3 separate regions of the Homo sapiens genome follow, and all the other regions are linked to region 1. Evidence: promoter capture Hi-C in 16 types of primary human blood cells and fetal thymus (Javierre and others, 2016). All regions are on one chromosome and are shown on one strand. The core of a region is centred on a gene start or on the middle of the fragment in contact, and the rest is flanking DNA. Distances in the headings are between cores, read along the strand shown.

What was found. The method cuts DNA at HindIII sites, captures the fragments that hold promoters and counts their contacts. A CHiCAGO score of 5 or more calls a contact.
Region 2: a contact is called between a fragment that was not itself captured here and the fragment with the promoter of WIF1 in region 1, in 1 of 17 cell types (endothelial precursors). The highest score is 5.3, in endothelial precursors.
Region 3: a fragment that was not itself captured here is called in contact with the fragment with the promoter of WIF1 in region 1 in 4 of 17 cell types (M1 macrophages, endothelial precursors, M2 macrophages and 1 more); the score reaches 6.5 in M1 macrophages.

Annotation. Positions count from the first base shown.
Region 1 is chr12:65,120,034-65,122,598 of GRCh38, forward strand. It overlaps WIF1 (Wnt inhibitory factor 1), which reads right to left and starts at 1,272. Exons shown (of 10, transcript NM_007191.5): 1 at 1,011-1,272; 2 at 384-523. The coding sequence starts at 1,158. RefSeq lists a silencer at 1,433-1,592. The HindIII fragment of the contact is 2,494 bases long and covers 858-2,565 here.
Region 2 is chr12:64,784,571-64,787,135 of GRCh38, forward strand. It overlaps a transcript of TBC1D30 not described here. Among named protein-coding and RNA genes, the nearest start is that of GNS, 26 kb to the left of the region's middle. The HindIII fragment of the contact is 624 bases long and covers 958-1,581 here.
Region 3 is chr12:64,819,534-64,822,098 of GRCh38, forward strand. It overlaps a transcript of TBC1D30 not described here. Among named protein-coding and RNA genes, the nearest start is that of TBC1D30, 3.8 kb to the right of the region's middle. The HindIII fragment of the contact is 418 bases long and covers 1,088-1,505 here.

The DNA.
Region 1 (2,565 bases), core at 22-2,521:
TGTTGTAAAGTATGAAGAATGTCACAAGTGATTAGAAACTACTATGCAAAAAGAGTCCTTTAAGTATGTTAAATTTTAATGTCAATGATCACAGAAACACAGTGATGTTGGTATTGGAGGTCTTTATATTTCCAGCAGCCTCAGGACACTGAGTCTTATCAAAATAATGGGCTTAGGCACAAGGCTTGTTCTTTTCTTTTGAAGATCATTAATTGATATGGCAACTTGAAATAAATGGAAATTAATTCTTTATTTGCTTTGGCAATCAGATGAGAAATTTCTCTTAATAACTGTAAAATGTACCAGGCTACACACTATACAGTACTATTTCCACCTGCCATAAGGCAGTGGAAATATTAAAGGGTAATTTTCTCAGAACTTACCTGCCCTGCAGCTTGCCAGGTAAAATTCATGGAATGGATATTGACAGGAATAGCTGGCATTCTCTGTTGTGCTTTTCTGAAATCATGTGTAAAAGGTGCCATTTTCCCCTCTGAAACAATCAGGATATCTTCTTCAAATCCTGGTTTTTAAAATAATAAAACGATCAAACCAGGTAGACTTGAAATCATCTAAATCAGAAGTTTCAAGCAAAAAGAAAACCAAAGAATTAGTGTGGGTCATTTCTGTTCACAAGCATCTGCCTTCAGTACCATCAACGCTACTAAGATTAATTTTTCTCTGTGGATGATGAGAATGATGCCAACAGACCCATGCTTTCAGGGAAAAGGGATGGACATGGAGTTAACCGACGCAAAAAAATGCCGGGTGCACCTAAAAACGCAGGGCTATAAAAATTAACAACAGCATGATCAGAACACTAGATCAGCTTTGGTTTCTTAAAAGAGAAGTTTATAAGCTTTCAGATGGAAAATATCTAATTAAAAGAGGGGAACACTCTTTTGTGGAAATTAAGTTTTAAAACACAAGAAACGCAGGTATCCCTCTTTCTTGAAGAGTGGAGAGAGGAGGACATAGGCAGGGGAAGGCGCTGGAGGCGGGGGCCTTACCTATGAGTACTCTTGCCTGGTGAGCATCGATCCATAGGTACAGGCTCTCCTCCTGCGGCGGCCCGGCCTCCGCCCGCAGTGCCAGCAGGCACAGGAGGATGCTCCAGAGCCAGAGCGCGGCGGCAGGGAAGGCGCTCCTCCGGGCCATGCTGCTCAGGACCTCCTCGCTGCCGGGAAAACTCCTCGTGCCGCACCTACGCAACCTGGCGCCGTCAGATACTCTGCTGCGCTGCAGCTCCCTCAGCCAGGGCTGTTCCCGTTTAGACGGCTGGGCGCGTCGCCTCCCGGCCTGGGTGCCAAGGAGCCTGCGAGAGCAGGAGGAGGGGGCAGGCAGGACGCGGGAGGAGGAGGGGGGGACCAGCGGGCGCGAGTCGCGCAAGAAGATGGGGCGCGGGCGGGAGTGGGGGCGGCAGAGACGTAAGACTGGCAAAGCTGGCGAGGCCAGCAGTCAGCGGGGCAAATAGAGCGAGAACAGAAGAGCGGGAAGGGCTGGCGCGAGCGAGGTGCGAGCGAGGAGTGGGGCCCGCGAGGCCTGGGCGGCCGCCACTTGGGGGCGCTGTGGGGCCCCCCCGGGGGCGGGGCCGCGAGGGACCCCCGAGGCTGCATTCACAGTGCGGTGCGCCCAGTGGAGCGCCCGCGAAGTGGGCGTGTAGGGCTGGCGGACCCGGAGAAGGGCACTCAGAGACCCCTGGGACATCACTCGCCACCTCCTCGGGCCAAGGGAGGCTTCGGGGGAGGGAAATGGGGAGAGCAGACAACGCTGGGCTTGACTGAGTGCTGATGATGGTGATGGTGATGGTGATGATGATGATGATGATGATGATGAGGTGATGACTCCTGTTCCTCCTCCGGCGCTCACTGAAGGCGCAAATTGCCCTTCGTCTCCCTTTCAGCCAGTAGGATTCCTCTCTCCGCCAACCCTATGCGCTCCGTTCTGCGATAGGCTGGCACTTTGCGCGCTCCCAAGCAGTTAAAACTCGAGGCTCGACTGTCCGATGGTGCCGATGGCAGGCGCTGGCCTTGGCTCGAGGCGCAGGGCGTCCAGCTGGTACTTGCCCGACACCCAGCATTTGGGGATTCCCGTCTGTCTCCCTGATAACCCGGCAGTGCCCGGAAGAGTGCCCTGGGCCCTGGACGATAGCTGTACCTGACCCTCCGGGGTAGGGCTCCTCTAACATCGTGGATATCTTCACGTTTGCTGATATTTTTTAAAAGTTGCTGAATTCGGCCGGGCGCGATGGCTCACGCCTGTAATCCCTGCACTTTGGGAGGCCAAGGCGGGCGGATCACCTGAGGTCAGGAGTTCGAGACCAGCTTGGCCAGCGTGGTGAAACCCCGTCTCTACTAAAAATGCAAAAATTAGCTGGGCATGGTGGCGGGGGCCTGTAGTCCTAGCTACCCGGGAGGCTGAGGCAGGAGAATCACTTGAACCGGGAGGCGGAGGTTGCATTAAGCCAAGATCGTGGCACTGCACTCCAGCCTGGGCGATAGAGCGAGACTCCGTCTCAAAAAATATATAAATAAATAAATAAAATAATTTTTTAAAAGTTGCCGA
Region 2 (2,565 bases), core at 20-2,519, 340 kb before region 1:
CCTACTAGATCATGCTCTAGTGACTAATCATATCAAATGTGACCAAAAAAAACCTCCTCCCAAATCGTAATGATCATTTATATAAAGACAGTAGACAATTCTGGTTCCCAAATTTGTTTTGACCTATAGAAAAACTGCTGTTAAGGGGAGGGAGAGCATTAGAACAAATACCTAATGCATGTGGGGCTTAAAACCTAGGTGATGGGTTGATGGGTGCAGCAAACCACCATGGCACATGTATACCTGTAACAAACCTGCATACTCTGCACATGTATCCTGGAACTTAAAGTAAAATAAAGTAAAAAAAAAAAAACTGCTGTTGTGAATATTAGTTTTATGAATGTAGAATTATTGTAATTTATCTGTGTAAAGGAAATTTATTTTCTACCATATTTGAAAAATTGCTGAGGCTCTAAGATGAAATATTGTACCTCTAAGACAAAATGTTTTTAGGCTATTGGAAGACTGGATATTCAAAACAAAATCAGTATTGCCACATTCATCTACATTACAAAATGTGGTAAAATTATTTACTTTTAGCTCATCATTTGTAAACATAGATGAGTACTTTAAAGACTTTTTTTTTTTTTTTTTCTTTGAGACGGAGTTTCGCTCTTGTTGCCCAGGCTGGAGTGCAATGGCGCGATCTTGGCTCACTGCAGCCTCCTCCTCTCGGGTTCAAGCAATTCTGCCTCAGCTTCTGGAGTAGCTGGGATTACAGGCATGTGCCACCACTCCCAGTTAATTTTGTATTTTTAGTAGAGATGGGGTTTCTCCATGTTGGTCAGGCTGGTCTCCAACTCCTGACCTCAGGTAATCTGCCCTCCTTGGCCTCCCAAAGTGCTGGGATTACAGGTGTGAGCCACCACGCCTGGCCTTTAAAGACTTTTTTTTTTTTTTAATTAGCTGTTAGGTTTATTATTAATGTAACAGACTAAAAAAGATTCTTTTCTAGCAAGCTTACCATCTGAACACTTCAGTGGTACAAAATATACATGCCAGTTTTCAGGCAATGAAAAGTAAATTTGCAGCCAGAGCTAGATATGGTAAAAGTAGGAGTTTTTGCTCCATGTTACAGATAGGCTTAAGGATAAATTTACCTTACAGTATCTGTCTCATGGACAGGGCAGATAAATGAGTGACTTATTTGATCGGAATGTCCGAGCTGAATGCATACATGTAATCTTGAGTGAAAACCTAGAATTAGTTGGTTTAAATGGATGTTCTATTTATCTTTGGACTAATATCACACTGGAATTTGTATTCCTCTCAAGGTATTAATCGTTATTCTTATTTTTCTTTACTGATAGACGCTAATGAACTGAAGACGATCCTTCGAGAGCTAAAGTACAGAATTGGCATCCAGTCGGCCAAGTTACTTCGGCATCTGAAGCAGAAAGATAGGCTTCTGCATAAAGTGCAGAGGAACTGTGATATTGTGACTGCCTGCTTGCAGGCTGTGTCACAGAAGAGAAGTAAGTACTGGAATTGGGTTACTTCTTTTGCCACATGCAACTAGAATGTTAGGAAAGCTGAGCCAACAGTCTGTGTTTGTGAATATATTGAGAAGTTTTAAATGCAAGCTTATACCCTCAGAACTAAGAACAAGGAACAACTCAGACAGTTTCCTATTTTTCAGTTAAAATGTATACTTCATGTCTAATGTTACAACCTTAGATTTATTATTCTAGATTTGAAGTAGTACTTTACTTTGACAATAATTTTACCTAATGCTGAATGATGATTACAATTTTATTTTATTTATTTATTTATTTATTTGAAACAGAGTCTCACTCCGTCACCCAGGCTGGAGTGCAGTGGCGTAATCTTGGCTGAATACAACCTCCGCCTCCCAGGTTCAGGCAATTCTCCTGTCTAAGCCTCCTGAGTAGCTGGAACTACAGGCGCCCGCCACCAGGCCTGGCTAATTTTTGTATTTTTAGTAGAGACGAGGTTTCACCTTGCTGGTCAGGCTGGTCAGGCTGATCTCAAACTCCTGATCTCAGGTGATTCACCCTTCTTGGCCTCCCAAAGTGCTGGGATTACAGGCGTGAGCCCCTGCGCCTGGACAAATTTTTATTTTTAAAACAGCATCACTGGCTGGGTGTGGTGGCTCACACCTATAATCCCAGCACTTTTGGAGGCCGAGGCTGGTGGATCACCTGAGGTCAGGTGTTTGAGACCAGCCTGGCCAACATGGTGAAACCCCATCTCTACTAAAAATTAGCTGGTCGTGGTGGCTGGCACCTGTAGTCCCAGCTACTCAGGAGGTTGAGGCAGGAGAATCACTTGAACCTGGGAGGCAGAGGTTGCAGTGAACCGAGATCGCACCATTGCACTCCAGCCTGGGCGACAAGAGCGAAACTCCATCTCAAAAAAAAAATAAATAAATAAAAATAAAAATAAATAAATAAAACAGCATCACACAGACATAACCTAAAAGGCATGTCCTTTTTCTCTTATTCTGTGTTGCTACAGTAAGTGAATTAAATAATTGATTTAAAGAAATCGATTCTTGTAACAGGACCTTAACAACTTGCTCTGAAATCTGAAGATGGCAACATA
Region 3 (2,565 bases), core at 47-2,546, 300 kb before region 1:
AGCCTCCCAAGTAGCTGGGATTACAGGTGTGCGCCACCACACCCAGCTAATTTTTGTATTTTTAGTAGAGATGGGGTTTCACCATGTTGGCCAGGCTGGTCAGTCTCCCGAAGTGCTGAGATTATAGGCATGAGCCACTGCACTCGGCCTTGAAGGAACTACTTGTTAAGTCCCTACTTTAGTAGGTCTGAGGAAAGTGTTAACTTCTTGTAGAAAAGGCCACAGATCTTGTCTGGTTAGCAGACGCCACTTCACTATTCAGGAGCTGTTTACACATGTTCAAAAATTGTGGGATGAGGAGAGAGGAGGAAGAGTGGCTTTTATGCCACCAGACCTCCATTCTTTTTATTATCACAGGTGCAAAATGTCCCCATCTCCTGCCGAATGGGAGACAGCACTAGATCTGGTGGTCTGATGAGATCTCTGATGCTCAGCTTGTGTGCATATCAGCACCTGCCAGGGAACTCCGCAGCTGTACAGATGAGTTCCAGGCCCACTTCCCCAGAGCAGGCTGGCTCCCTGTGGTCTCTCTCTCCTCATAGCAGGCTTCCAGGGCCTTTTCTCTTGGTAATTGTCAGTCCCTGAAGATAAGCACGTAGGCCCTTTTTATTTTAAGACTTTACTGTTAAACAAAAAAAATAGCAGCATTAGGAAATCACAGGTCTCAGACCCACTTCCCCTTCTGGAAGCCCCTTGGGACATAGTTTTTATTCCTTGTGTTGGGCTTTCTTTTCTTACTGACTTCTTCCCCCTTCTCCCATTAAAGGAAAAGTTCGCTCTCAAGGAAACCTCATTCCCAGCATGTAGGCCTGAAGATGCAGGGTATGCCGAATGGTCCATACTTTTTTTTGTTTCAGCCTGGGAGCTCACATCTGTGGGGGATGTCCTCAGGTTATTAGCTCTGTGACATTCGGGGCATTTCCTCAAAGCCTTCATTTTCTTTAGCAATCCAAATAACATTATCTCATCCAATGTGAAGTGTTCATTAAGCCTTCCTTCCCCTAAATTCAGCATAAGTCATAACCATTGTAGACTGTGGCAGTGTATAATTTGCCCAAATGTGAATTCACTATTATTTGATTGGTAAAGCTTGATTAGTAAAGAATAATGGTAAATTGGCCTGGCTCCTGAGATTCTCAGGCAAAGTCCATGCTGGCTTGAGTTCTCTGTAAGTTGACTTTAGATGACATCTTTCACGTTTGTAAAACAATATTCCAGACATGAAATAAAAAACTGTGAGTCACACAATCAACATAATACTAGGCTTGGGCCATCGCTGCTTTTAGAGTATTGTGTTTTAGTGCTCATGTAATTATCTGTTTGCTATAAAAGTTGGCAGTCCTGACTTTCCTCTCCAATGTAAACAAAATAATATTATCTAATTCCTTTGCTGTTTATTGCCATCATAGCAGAAACTCTTAAATTTTATTTTAAAAACAGAGTTAGATTTTCCTCGTAATAGATCTAAAAGAGGTGAAATTGAATGTTCCTTTTGCAAGCAAACAAGCTTCTGTCACTACTAGTAAAGAAAAGTATTACAAGTAAAGAAGAATCTAAAGAGAGGTCTTTTTATCAGTCATGACACATGGGTGAGTTGACAGCCTAGAGTCTAGATGTCAGCTTTGGCAGTCTGGAAATTTGGTGTCTTCAGGTTACTGACTGGTAAGTGAACTCAGGGGTATTGACTGCTATTAACTGGTCAGTATATTCTCTGTGCTGCAGCAGAGTCTATATGGGAAATCAAATGACAATCCAAAGTTTGCTTGGTGAGCATGACGTCAGAGCCAAAGGGAGTTGGATGGTCTGAGTGGCATATGTCACAGCCCCAGGGGCAGGACGTCCTCCTCTCCACTCCAGAGACAGTGTTGTAGAACAGAGCTGATTGCTTGTCCTCTTGGCTTGCCTAGTGATGGAAACCGAGCATGAATAGCCTCTCTTGTTAAAATAGAACACAAAACCCTCTAAGATTTGAGCATATGAGAGGTCTGGAAGACGAGACTGTGCATGCAGTTACCAACTTGTCCTGCTGGATTTTCCCTCTCCTGCCAGTTCCCTCTCTTTGACTTCGGGTGTTCATCACCATCTTCAGCCCCAGGGTATACTGTGCCCTCTAAAAAACTGGTCAAAGGGAAGCATCAGACCTCTTCCTATGGCTCTCAGTACAACTGAGATAGGCTGCAACAGCCAATGAGTGTCTTATTAAAATTAATACAAAGCTGAAGGATACAAACATGTACCAAAACTGTAAAAAGTTGATGGTTGATGGAGGATAAATTTCTGTACCGGAGCTCGCAGCAAAAGGTTGGGAAATTTAAGCCAAGCAATTAGTCATGACCAGCTTAAACAGTGACTTCATTTTCTAAAGTGATGCCTTTTCAAAGAGTACTGCCCTTTTGAAAGCATCTTTACCTCTGCCAGGCAGCTACAACTGAATAGCTTGCATGTCCTTTATTAGCCTGCTTTACTTTTGCAGATGGCTCATCTCATTTTTAATAGATTCTTTTACAGCTCATTCTTAGGGTTGCACCATTTCTGACATTGTCCTCAAATTCTGGGAAGCGTCAT